2 separate regions of the Homo sapiens genome follow, and region 1 is linked to region 2. Evidence: promoter capture Hi-C in 16 types of primary human blood cells and fetal thymus (Javierre and others, 2016). All regions are on one chromosome and are shown on one strand. The core of a region is centred on a gene start or on the middle of the fragment in contact, and the rest is flanking DNA. Distances in the headings are between cores, read along the strand shown. Region 1 overlaps ITGAV (integrin subunit alpha V). Region 2 holds the start of ZC3H15 (zinc finger CCCH-type containing 15).

Region 1 (7,369 bases), core at 1,355-3,854, 190 kb after region 2:
ATGTTACAGGAATATTACCTCTGTTTAAGCAAGGTAATGTGTAAAATCAGTCTCGGCTGTCAGAATAACTTCTAAAAGGTATTTTTATAAGCAGTTCAAGTTACTGAAAACCTTTTAAACCTTTCTGAAGTTCGTTAGTATAAATTACTTTTCTAGGATTATTAATAAAAGCCACATAGGTGGCAAGTTGTAGTTTTATATGGCTCTGTAGAGTGGTGAACCTTCTAGAGGAATATATGATTTATTCACAGTTCCTCAAGGCCTGGGGATGATGATCAGTTATACCTATTTTTGTGCAATTACATCATGTTGTACATTAGAAATGGAGAGTTTAATAGCTCTTTAACTGCTGTCCTCATTAGGTAATGATAAATATTTCCCTTAAATAATTGACTATTTTGCTGTGTTTTAAAAATGATTGAAATTTATCTTGCCATATCTCATAATTTCATGCACAAGTTGACTGAGCTAATCTTGAGAATATATTCGTAAAATAGGAGCACATTTAGTTGAGGTATACAAGGTAGGACTCTAGACAAAACCTTCTATTTTAGCTTTAGTGAATTTCAAAAGTAATGGGTCTTGGAGTATAGATTTTTATTAGTAGCTTGAAAGAGCTTAATCATATGCAGTAAGTATTTTTATTACCAATAAATTTAAAATTTTTTAAGAAAAATATTTTTATCCTAGGGCCAAGTGTTGCCTGCCACCAATCAGTAAGTTAGTCTATAACAAATTTTACCCTAACAGTTTTACCACCTAGTAACAGTCATTTCTGAAAATATGTTGGATAGAAAGTCACTCTTTGGCAAAAGTGTTAGAATTTGCTTTTGTGCCATCTATTCCTTTTATGGCATCTATCTTGAAAGTAATCTTGTATTGGAGATTGAAAGATGCTGTAATTTAGAAATTAACATGATATCTTAAATTACCTTTATGAAATATAGTTTTGTATAATAGCATAGATTTTCCTTCAAAAAATGAACATTTATATATCTACAAAAATATGGAGAAGAGTAATTTGAAAGCCTACTTTCTGAAGAAAATGGTGGGATTTTTTTTTATCATGATTAAATATCAAAAAATTGCCCTATGAAAACTTTAAATCTCTAAAACATTTGAAATACTACCATATTTGTGATTTATTGAGAATAAAAATCCATTTTGAAATGTAAAATTTTTATGATCTGATTCAGTTTTAAGAAAACATGAATGAACTAGAAGATATTAAAAACATTTGACATTGGTAAGAAATATTGATACTGATATTGATTTTTATATAGGTATTTATTTCAGAATTGATATTTTGAGAAAAATACATGTGAGTCATTTTTTCTGTTTCTCTTTTCTCTTAACGATTATCACTGTAATTCTGAATCTGAAAGGTAAAACAATTAGTCAAAATATTATTGCCATCATTCTACCTGTGTTATGAAACTACTTATTCATAGTTAATTCTCATTAACACTTACATTTCCATAAAGAAAACTCAAGTATTAATAAAAGAGACTTTACTGGCTTAAGAGGGCTGTGAAAGATTTTTGATAGTGAATCATGACCCTAAGGGAGAGATTTGTGTGATAAAAGTATTGTATATAATAGATCAGCGATTTTTGTAAGGCAAACAGAATTTGTAAGTTGGCAGATCTTCCTAAGTTGCAAAATGTAATGATGAGCTTGGTGGAGAAGAATGAGTCGTTCTTGGAATACCTATGTGCAGCCACTACCCATCTCAATGTCACCTTGTTTGCATTCTTGGATAGCTTGTATATGTAGTAGTTTGATGAATAATTTAAAGAAAAACACCTAAAATTTGAAAAATGATTGTAGGATCAAAAAAGGCAGATGAAATTACTTAATACTCAGTGTTTTGGAGAGTATTCCTTTTAGTTTGTTGGTTGGCTGGTTTGAACGATAGAAATATGCAGCATGCAATATATGCTTATATTTCATTTTAATTTCTGATATATAATGAACTTCTTGGGAGAGGTACTGAATCTTTGATGTTTTTTGTCATTGTTCTCAAGTGCAATATAACAATGTAACCAAATCTAGATAATTTCAAAGTTGTCATTAATTTAGTAAGCCTAATATAAACAAATATTTGTATTATTTTTGTTAGCAGGAAAGAGTGATTAAGTGAGGTTATTTACCCCTAAATGGTCCATTCTGCATTGTATTTCAGGCTGGAAATGAATTATTCTTTACCAGTTTTGAAACACTTTGAAATATCCTAAGGTAACTTGGAAGCTGTGTAGTATATCAAATTAATTTGCTACCTAATAACATAGAAAGTAAATATCTTTGTGGTCACCCACATTGGGTGAGACAGAAAATGAATCTGTTCTAAAATTTGTAATTTGCTAACTTGATTTGAGTTAGTGAAAACTGGTACAGTGTTCTGCTTGATTTACAACATGTAACTTGTGACTGTACAATAAACATAAGCATATGGTACCACTTTTGTGTATGGGGTTTATCCTTTCTGTGACGTGTTTTTGTTTTTTGATTACATGAGCTAGCAATAATGCACTAAAAGGATGACCTCAGAGGTAACTTTCTGTAAAACTTCAAATCTTGAATGTCAGTTATTTGATGAAAAGAAACACAAAAAGAGCAAAATGTACCACATTAAAATTCATCCTTAGAAAGGCAAATATGTATTTGCCTGAAATATAAGAATTATTTTATTTCTAAACAAACATTTCTAAATTCATTATGCTAACCTTTATTATTTTTACATTATCAGATTCCTTTTAAAATGCACATTTACATCTTTTATAATTTTTAATTATAGTGTATATATGTCATTGCATATATGCAGTTGCAATATACATATGCAATTCTAGTATAAAAATACCTATTTTTATAAATGAAAAGTACCAAGAAGAAAATTAAGTGTTGAGATGCTTGGGAAATTATACTGAAGTAGCATAATACACCACCGTAAATTCCTATGGAAATAAGATAGAGTATTGCCAGCATCCACAAGCCCCCTTCTGTCTCTTTCTAATCATATCTCACCCTGCCCTGCAAAAGTAACCACTGTCCTTACTTCTAACACTATATGCTTAGTTAGATGTGATATTTCCCCTGGACCAGCAAGTCATAACTACCCCTATCCTGACCACCATACTTGATATTTTGGCTCCAATTAAGATGTAAAATGTACAGCACCTACACATGGAAGTATTTTGAGTGTGAGAATTAGAAAATGGGCAGAGCCTTTCTGTCCTGCCTGACTTACTAGTTGCTCTTTAGGATCAAATAAGATAACACATATGAAAGGATTTTATTTTTTTGAGATGGGGTCTTGCCATGTTGCCCAAGCTGGTCTCAAACTCCTGAGCTCAAGTGATCGCCTGCCTTGTCCCCCCAGAGTGCTGGGATTACAGGTGTGAGCCACCATGCCCTTCCTGAAATCATTTTGAAAACCGTTGAAACCACTTGGGTTCAAAGCTCTTCCCAGTCACTTACAAATTTACCCTCTGTGGAAGTATCTTGGTCCACAGAGGGTAAATTTGTGAGGACTTTGTGAAAATGCAAGAAAAGGGGTTATCAAACGCATATGTTAAGTGCTTATCCAGTAAGTCTCTTCCATCATTCACTTGACTGGTCCAAGAAGAAAATTTTGAGCCGTGGAATTCTCTTTTCCAAGATTAATTTTAAACATCCTTCGAACCTTATAATGGTGATAAATCATTAATGAGGCAAGCCATTATAGAGAGTTGTATTAGTCTGTTTCACACTGCTATAAAAGAACTGCCTGAGACTGGGTAATTTATAAAGGAAAGAGTTTTAATTGACTCACAATTCAGCATGGCTGGGGAGGCCTCAGGAAACATAATCATGGCTAAAGGCAAAGGGGAAACAAGGCACCTTCTTCACAAGGCAGCATGATGAAAAATGAATGCAGGCGGAACTACCAAACACTTATAAACCGTCAGATCTCGTGAGAACTCACTATCAATAGAACAGCATGGGGGAAACTGCCCCCATGATTAAGTTACCTCCATCTGGTCTCTTCTTTGACATGTAGGGATTGTAGGGATTATGGGAATTACAATTTGAGATGAGATTTTGGGTGGGGACACAGCCAAACCATATGAAGAAACATTCTTGAACAGGCCTGAAATACGATAAAATTCAACCACCGGCAGCCATGTTGGCAAAAAGTGACAGAACTGTATGCGTTTTAGAAAAAGAAATTATACTACTTATTTCTAAGAAGTAGCTTTGGTATTTTGCTTTGGTGATATGTCTATTTATTATGAATAATTTATATAATAGCTAATATTATAGATACTATATTGATACCCATTTTATTGATTTGAAATCAGCTCAGAGAATGATTATCAAAGCTCTCACACTAGCGTGTGGTAGAGCTTTGTTATGTCCCCAGGATGTTCTCTCTTAATGTGTTCTACAGTAGTGTCTTTCCTTGCAGAAACCACCTAGCCCCTCCATACCTTTTTATTATATCCTATATGATGGACATCGTAATAGCTACCTCATCATGTAGTGTTATCTTTGGAAATATTAAATATATGCAAAGTACTTATGTATATTAGTATATTAACATATTAGAAGACAGAATGATGGCTGGCAATATTTTCATATTACTGCCAAGAAGAGGTGATAAGGGCTTAAATAAACCAGGCCAGTAACAATGGGAATGGAAAGAAGGAGACATATTTAGGATAATGTATGATGTAGAATCCATAGGTTTCTGGGTTGGGTGATTGGCTGGACTGAGAACTGAGGCAGGAAATAGGAAAGGGGCAGAGATTTGGGGAAGAGCAGAGAGTTTAGGAGAGGAAAAGGTACATTACATTTGAGGTACTTATGGCATATCCAGATGGAAATTTCCAGCAGGTTCTTGTAAACATAAGCCTTGGTATTCAGGAGAAAGATCAAAGCCAGAGAAATAATATGGGTATTAATAGAAGCTAATGGATGAGATTGTTCAAGAGAAATGTGTAAAGTAAGGAGACAGGAAGAAGGCAGTGCAGTAAATTTTTACATTTAAAAGGAGGATGGGATGGCCAGGATCCAGGAGGCTTGGCTATAGAAGTAAAAAAAAAAAAGTCAAGAGAGACTGTGACGCAAGACCATAGAGAAACAAAGTAACCATAGAGAAACAAAGTAAGAGAAGAGTGGGTTATTCGTGACCTTACAGAAAGCCATTTCAGTGGTGTGGTCAAGCACTAAACCCGGATTACAGTGGGTCAAGCAGTGGATAGGCATTAGGCTTGGCTAGGCTTAGAAAGGAAGAGAACGGGCTGTAGTTTGAGGTGAAAGCAAAAGTAGGAAAGTTTGTTTTACAGATGGAAAATTCTTGAGCAGTTTTGTACATTAAGGGGCAAAACACATTTTAAAGGATATGATGTAGATAAGGAAAGAAGGAAAACTTGAGGAGAGCAGATCTAGAACATATTGGGAGAAGGAGGGTCAGGATTAGCATCAAGAGATGAGATAGAACAATCCCAGGGAATATCTTGGATCAGGAGCAAAATCACAAAGTTGCAAACAGTGGCCTGATGTTGTTTTGTTTGGCCTCAAGGTATTTTAAAAATAAATGAACTAGTTGGCACCATTAATGTATTATAAATACCCCAAAGACAGAGATTCTGAATTCTAAGAGCCACGGTATTCTTGAGGATAGGAGCCTGTGTTCTTGCTTGGATACAGCATTGGAACTGAGTAAGGTCTGCACTAAGATGGTCAAGCAATTTTGGGGTTACCATAAATCCTAGAGAGACTTCCGTTTATTTCACGAGACTAAGTTCTCATTACTCATTTGCCTAGCCATTGTAGGAATTTGAGTTTGTAACTCCTGATGAAGAGCCTGCTGAAATCATGAATGGATCAGAATTACCTGCTGAGTTTACCATACCACTCTTTGGCTAGGTTATACCCCAAATACCCTTTGCATTTGTTCAGTCTGTTGCTTGTACATAAGCTAAATCTAAAGGCAACCAGCTGGGCACAGTGGCTCATGTCTGTAATCTTGACATTTTGGGAGGCCAAGGTAGGAGGTTTGCTTGAGGCCAGGAGTTCTAGACCAGTCTGGGCAAGACAGTGAGACCCCCATCTCTACAAAAAAAATTTTTTTTAATTAAAAACTTTCTTGTAAACAAAGCAACTTGATCATAGATATCATAATACTTTGACATGCTTGATTAAAAAAAAGATTATAAATAATTTTAGTGACCAAGAACAGAATCATAGGCATTTAAAGTTTAATAGGGGTTTCCAATTTCAATAATGGCAGGATAGCTTTTATCAGATAACAATGATAAATTCTTAACAAAATAGGGTGGAAAACAATCCTTTGAAGACATTGAAGTTACTGAAAGCAGGCAGAAATTGGAGGGGATTTAACTGTTAAAGAAGGCAGCTACATTTACCCCTGAGGTTACTCCCTATGGAACGGATAGAATACAACAGAAAGCTGTCTTTCTTTCTGGAATGATGAGACTGCCACTATGGCTAGAAATTGAGGAGAAAAATCCAGGAAAGGAAGCAGTCACAGGGTGGGAGGTGGGAAATATTTCCCTCAAATCCTTGGCTGAACCCAGCACTGAGTGAGGCTATAAGGGGCCCAGAGGAAAACAACAGAGGGAAGGCTGAAAGAATGGAGCAGTTATTCCAGCTACTACTGTCCACTGCACAAGAAACAAGAGATGAAAGTTCAAGTCTTACTAGTTACAGGGCTTCAAAAAACCCATTTTTCCATTGAAACCCCATTGGATCTATGCCTTAGGAATAAGTAGTACATCCAAAGATTAATTAATTCACCCTAGGATGAAGGAAAAAGCCAAAACAGGCCCACCCTAACAAACTGTAAAACCAAGCTTCCCCAAGTTTATGATACACCTGTAATTTAACTGACTGCTGGTAAAGACTTACTTTCAGAGGAAGATGACACAACATAGAGACTCTGCAATGTATCATCCACAATGTCATGGAGGGGAGGAGGGTGGGGAAGAATGGGAAGAAACAGGAAAATGTGAGAAAATATAACCCAGAGTTTTGAGAAAAATCAGTCAATAGAAACAGACCCACAAACAATTTAGCAGACATGACTTTATTTTTTCTGTTATTTTTATATTTAAAAATATTTTATCTTTCAATTTGTTTTTTTTTATTTCAATAGCTTTTGGTGTACAAGTGGTTTTTGGATACATGGATGAACTGTATAGTGGTGAAGTCTGAGATATCAGTGTACCCTTCACCCGAGCAGTGTACATCTTACCCAATGTGTAGTTTGCTATCCCTCACTCCCTCTCACCCTCCCCACTTCTGAGTCTCCAGTGTCCATTCTGTATGCCTTTGTGTACCCATAGCTGACATGACTTCAAATAAC
Region 2 (6,593 bases), core at 2,323-4,822:
ACCAAAGTTTCTAGTTATGATACCTAGATGGAAGGTAGATAGGTTTTTTTTTGGGAGGGGGGAGGTATACACATAAGACTATGAAAAGTTCGAAGGCACATAAGAGTAGAGAGGGAATATGAAGGTGGGGAATAGGAAAAGCTGGCCTAAAATGAGGAGTAAGAACTGAAATAACAGAAGATAAAAAGCAGATGTTATAGGCTGAGGAAGATGTGGAATCCCTTACACTCCCTTTAGAAAGACATAAGAAGCCATTAAAAAACTATTACTAGGGAAATGACATGGTTGATTTAAATCATTGGAAATGATTTAAGTGTCAACGAGGCAAAAAATATTTGGAAATCGTACATCTTGGTTTCTTGACAAATGCCATAATAACTATTATCATAATGGTACCAAGAAATATTTCAAATAGAAACAGAGAATTCACCCACTTAAGTCACCTACTTTAAGAAAATTTTACATCAGTGTAGGCTGGAGTGAAAGTTTACAGTATTGAAATTCAAACTGACAAGGTAAAAGACATTTTATATGCTTTACTGAAACACTAGCAAATCTTTTGTAATATCTTAATTCAGAGGGAAAAAAGTCTTAAAGGAGACTGACTATATGTCAGAATTTTGAAGCATTCACTATTTAAATCAAAATACTTCCTAATATGTACTGCCTTAACCCATAAAACAGATCAGCAATTTATATGGCCAAATGAGTCCTATCTTTATGACAAAAATTTACTTAGATAAACTAGTAGTCTTGTCTCTGCCCACCACCCCATAGCACAGTTTGGTCTATTATCAATCAGAGTCTGTCTTAGTTTACTAGGGCTGCAATAACAAAGTACCACAGACTGGGTGGCTTAAAAAACAGAAATTTATTTTCTCATAGTTTTGGGTGCTAGTAGGCTGAGATCAAGGTGTCAGCATGTTTGGTTTCTTCCAAGGCTTCTCTCTTGGCTTGCAGATGGCCACCTTCTAGCTATGTCTTCAAATATGTTTATGGAAATATTGTTCACAGAATCTATAGGAAGCCTGGAAAATCAGGCTTGGGAAATAAAAGAAGCAAGAAATAATAGCAAAGAATGAAGTAAGGACTTGTATGGATCTTGCCACACTGGCCTGCCGCCACTGGACTGGTAATACCATACATGCACTCTAATGCCCTGAAAAATTCCTACACTTTGAGTCTTTGTCTTGTTTTCTTGAGATTAAAAGCCTGAGACATAGGGCTTCCTTCCTATACAGAAGGACATTAGAATGCTGGATAGCAAACAATAATTTCTATTCAGTACAAAATCTACTGCCTTAATCTATTACATCTGATACATTCCAATAAATGTAAAGTTATCCAAATGGCTATATCCAAGGCAGTAAATTCACAGCCTGTCTACCAAATCGAAGCAGTCAGGTTTGACAGTTTTTCTTTTAGTTCTTTTACGGTGGGCATTTACCTCAGGTTTAACACTGTTCCCACAACTTCCTAATGTATTTCACTCATCCTGACGCTCAAGTTTATAGCCCTGCTTTCTTGGGTATATGAATTGTAACCCTTGGACTATGCCTTCTAAGCACTGTTTTGTGAAAGTTTCGTTTGAATTGTAAGGTCAATAAAAATAGCAGTAGAAGACATAAAAGTCCCAGCCCTGCTACCATTTGCTATTTGAGACCAGGAAAAACCATGTACCTTATTTCAAAAAGTAGTGAATTCAATGAGTTGGACTTCCTTATTTCTAAAATGTATGAAGAAATAGTGTACGAGGGAGAGTGCTATAAGAGCATGTACTATATTCAGAAATGTGTATTTTCCACTTGAGGCAAGAAAGGATCTTTGTTCTCTACCTGGGCTACACTTCAGAGGAAAAAACCGAAAGCAAAGGTCAGGAGACAGAAGAAGTTATGAACCATGAAACTGGAGCCATTATCATAACATTATGAGACTCTAGATTCTTTGTAACTTCCCCATATTTGTTACTTATAATTCATTTGCCTCATAATAATAATCAGTAAAATTACTCAAAATCAAAGGCCCAAAGGGCATCTTTGGGGCACTAAAAGTAGGAAGTTAAGACAACTACATTCCATATGCAAACAAAGTCTCAAAGGAGACGATCCCCAAATAATCAAATGGATAATAATACTGAGTAAAGAGGGGGCTGGCTGCATCCCTCCATCCTCTGACAAGAACTATGACAATTACAAAAAATAAAGATGAAAATATGTAAAAGGGGGGGAGCCCATTAACCTGCCAATATGAGCCCAAATGAAAAAAAGTGTGTCAACATACACCTGCCATTCTCGACACAATTCTTTTTAGTAGCTATCACATTTCTTCTACACACACACATACACACACAAAACATACTTGGGGTTCCTTGACATTATCTTACGTAGAAAATTACTAAGCAAATAATCAATTTGACTAAGTAGGGGGGCTTATCGTTTTCTCCCTATTCAAATTAATGAAAAAGATAAAAAAACTTTTATCTATAAAGATGATTCTTGGTTCCACAATGCTTCTTAACAGAAATAGTTTAAACAATAATCATTTTAAAAAATAACAGCTAAGCATTGTACATTTTTAAAAAATAGTATTTTCGTTTGTACAAATATCAATGGGTCCCATTCATCATTCAAGTACCTTTTCAAACAGGATCTAAGTTTGTAATGTTAGGTAATAGGCATATAGGCTGAAGCCGGACTGCCAAGATTACAATTGCTGGCTCTGTCCTTAATATAACTTTGGGCATCTTTCTTCCTTTCTCTGCTTCATCTATAAAACGAAAACAGTAACAACTCCCACCTAAGTGTCGTTGTGATAACTAAATGAAATAGTGTGTGTAATGTGCCAAGGAATTTCTGGAGCTACCAAGCACTTAAACTAAGTTCTAACTAAGTTTGGTTACTTTCACGTTATAAAGGAATTTTTAGGAATCACCTAGGCACTCTCCTAAAGTCTCAAAATAACTTAATACAGTACTTCTAAGGAGTTCAAGTGCCTCCTTATCTGGGACGCCATCTCAGATGCTCTTCAAATGAAAGGGACCCTGCAAATGAAAGTTAACTTTTTCCATTTTTTAAATAATCCTTCGCAGGAATCTGAAGCACGCGACACTCACGGGCCATTCAGCTCCGCCTCTCCAGGGAACAAGAAGGTTAACTGAGTAACGTGGTCACGGAGCAACCCCGAGTCGCTGCGGCTGCTTAGTAGTCACTCAGGATGGGGATGGTACAGGGGACCATTAACTGGCCCGGCAGGAAAAGTTTCCCGGTGAGGTGACGATGGACAAGAGTCGCCCCATCGTAAGCGAAAGTGGACTGAGAGGAAGCACAAACGCATGGACTCAACCAGCTCGCCCAGATTCACCCTCAGGCCTTTTGCCATCTGAAAAGGGCCTATCGGATGCGCGACATCACGAGTGACGCGTAGTCATTTTCCCACGTCCCGTCCCTGCCCCCTCCTAGTGGGACGCAGTGGGCGCGCACGCGCAGCTCCGCTTCCGGGAGCCGCTCCTCGCTACCCACTATGCTCTGCGACATCGACCTGTCGCAAAGGCCGCGTTTGCGGGGCCAATGAGCGACTCGCTTTCCGTGCGGTGCGGCGAGTGAGGCCCCGGTCTTCCTCCTCGTCCTGCCGCAGGGCCAGAACCCCTGACGGTATTCAGCTGCGCGTAAGTCTGGCCGGTGCCATCTGTCTCCGCAATGCCCCCCAAGAAACAGGCTCAGGCCGGGGGCAGCAAAAAGGCGGAGCAAAAAAAGAAGGAGAAGATTATCGAAGTGAGTACCCACCCCTCCCCCACTCACGCCGCGAGCCCTCCGGAAAGCCACTTCCCCGCTCCGGGCTTCCCTGGGAGCCGGCTCGCTTCCTCGGGCCACGTGTTCCTCCCTTAGGCCTGTGTGGCCCACTGCCCCTTCTCCAGCCCCTGATGACGCTAGCTCTCTCATTACTATAGTGACGCTGCTGGCGCCCCCGCACCTGGGCTTTGCCTCTCCGCCCACACGCCCGTGTTCACCCACCCATGCACCCGGGTGCGAAATGACCCCTCGGGACTGGCACAGGGTTTTATCCTTCGCTAGTCCTCTCAGAATTGAGGAGATTTTCCAAGGTTATGTGTGAAGAAATACGCTGAACGGTCTCGGGCCAGCGTCTTTCTGGAAGACCGACTCATGACGAGTCTTTGTGTTCGTTATTTCTTTACCCGTCACCCAGGGATGGTACTGTTAGTTCTTTTGAACCAACAAATTACGACTTGGTGGCTTTTTCGATCCACCTCTGAAATGTTTAAAGTCCCATAAAGAATGGAAGGACTTTCCGTCACAACCCAGGGTCTTGAACGCAGAGCTTGGTACTTACATTCTGAAGTGGATTAAATAGGATAACGCCTTAAAAGAGATTAGGTTTCAGTGTCACTAATTGTGTGAAGTCCCGTAACCCAGTTTGAGATATATGTGTGTGTGTGCGCGTGTATATATGTATACATCTATGTGTGTGTATATGTGTATATATGTGTGTGTATATATATTCGTTTAACACATTGAGCCTGTAGCCCTTTAATGGCCAAGGAACGCTATTGACGTTCTTACATGTTGTGCACTTGTTTTCCAACAACTGAATTGAGTTTCCTTAAAAGATGAACCATATTTGACATTACGTAAACATACCATACAGACCCCAACGAGGTATTTCTTCCCTCGATTTCTGCTATTAATCCTCCTCATAATTAAATAGGACCTCTTGTACTTTGGATATAATTAGAAAAAGCCATGACCATTTTACCGCATAAGGTGTAAAGTCTGCTCATTGGATTTAAGAAAATGCTTAAGAATTTTGCTATACTTGGCCAGGTTCCAACTTTGGAGGAGAACTGGTATTCTTATTGCCAATTTGTACAGTTTAAAACTGTCATGAAGTACTATAGCCAGACACTTAAAAACAAAATATTACCTTCACATCTGTGTTTTCTATTACCTTATTTGAACAATCTGGATTCGTGGCACTTAGGTAAATTTCAGGGGTTGCTGATCGGATGGCATTCACTTTTATGAAAACCAAGGACATTTTAGGGATGTCGTTTTCCTCGAGATTGGACCCTGATACGAAGTAAAACTCCCATTGAAATTAAATGTTATGTAATAATTTAGACAATTTAAATTATACTTCATGCATTGTAGAGCTTTCTCTATATCTAATTGTTTTATTTTTAATTAGTAGGACTAGTATTCTTATTTTAAGGAATTATGTGTGAAAGTTGTTTATAGTATCCATCAACTTTTAAAATGATGCATATGTTATGATTCTAGTCATCTTGTGACGAAATTATTTTTTAGCTAAAGAGAAAGCAATTTTAGTTTCAATAATGAAGGTATCTCCAAAGAAAAATGCAAAATAAGACAACTGCACTTTTTAACTAAAAATATTAACAACAACAAAGTGGTGAAATTAAGCCCGATTTTGTGTTTTCTACATTTAATATATATTATTTTTTTAATTTATTTTTTGTTGAGGTATAACTTATGTAAAATAAAATGTACAGGTTCTAGATGTATAGTTCTATGTGTTTTGAGGAATTTATTCACCCAGGTAGCTGCCACCCTAATTAAGACTTGAAACATTTCTATCACCCCACTAAATTTGTTTTGTGCCTCTTTCTATTTAATTCTTTCCACACGTGCAGCCACTAATTTTTTTGACAGGATAGATTAGTTTTTACCACTCTAGGAACTCATATAAATTATACAGTAGGTAGCCTTTGTGTCCTTCTTCTTGCTTTCACACCATGCAGTGTTTTTGAGATCCATGCATGTTGTGTATATTTCTAGTATGTTCCTTATTGCTGAAAAGTATTCTCTTGTATGGGAACCATTACAATATGTCACCTTTTGTGTTTAGTGTCTCTCTCTACTTGGAGGAACCAAAAGACGTTATAATTGACGCTTGAAAAACAAACTTAGGATTCCAAAATGGGTTAGAGGCGGTGTTTGTTAAAATCTCGGCAGCCAGAATGGATTATTTTGTGGCTAATGGAGTCATCTGTAGGGACCTTAACCTTGGGGCATACGCTGAGTTGGCATGAGAGTGTCCAATCATCTGTATACATTAGAGCTACAGGATAGGCATCATTAGGGGATCTGGGTGGTGTGTCTATTTCTCTGGGAAGGACTGGTCTTGACTACACCCTCAGTTAATTGCAGTTGTTGAGCTTCTTGCTTTTGCTGAATATGCTTGCATTTTGCTTTCTTGTGTTTTGTGCTATCATTCTTTAACCTAACCTGCAGTACCGTTGGATGTATGTCTTTGAGGCCATTTCTTTCTGAAGACTGAGGTTTGGGTATGGGTTCTTAGTGAACAAGATGTTCAAATATTCCATTTGTTTCTCAGTGATCATAGTTTGTTTCCTTTGAAATGTGTCCACTTGCCTTTAAGAAGGTCCTCCTAGCCTGACATCTTGTAATCTAGATGTTCTTTTATGTTCTGGTCCAGGGACCTGATGAGCTTTTTCAAAAAATACTGCAACAAAGTTTGTCAGACTCATGTGCAACATTGATATTTGCTACTACTGGAGAGGTACAACAATATTTTGAATTGTAGTGTTAAGTTAC

What was found. Contacts are between HindIII fragments. The CHiCAGO score rates a contact against its expected background, and 5 or more counts as called.
Region 1: a contact is called between a fragment that was not itself captured here and the fragment with the promoter of ZC3H15 in region 2, in 1 of 17 cell types (M2 macrophages). The highest score is 5.1, in M2 macrophages.

What each region holds. Positions count from the first base shown.
Region 1 is chr2:186,678,442-186,685,810 of GRCh38, forward strand. ITGAV (integrin subunit alpha V) reads left to right here. Exons shown (of 30, transcript NM_002210.5): 30 at 1-2,460. Among named protein-coding and RNA genes, the nearest start is that of FAM171B, 12 kb to the right of the region's middle. The HindIII fragment of the contact is 8,502 bases long and covers 1-6,855 here.
Region 2 is chr2:186,482,688-186,489,280 of GRCh38, forward strand. It overlaps ZC3H15 (zinc finger CCCH-type containing 15), which reads left to right and starts at 3,573. Exons shown (of 10, transcript NM_018471.3): 1 at 3,573-3,770. The coding sequence starts at 3,696. LOC105373785 (a long non-coding RNA gene) reads right to left here and starts at 3,313. Exons shown (of 2, transcript XR_001739147.3): 1 at 3,113-3,313. It also overlaps the pseudogene DPRXP1. RefSeq lists an enhancer at 3,203-3,682. The HindIII fragment of the contact is 12,604 bases long and covers 1-6,593 here.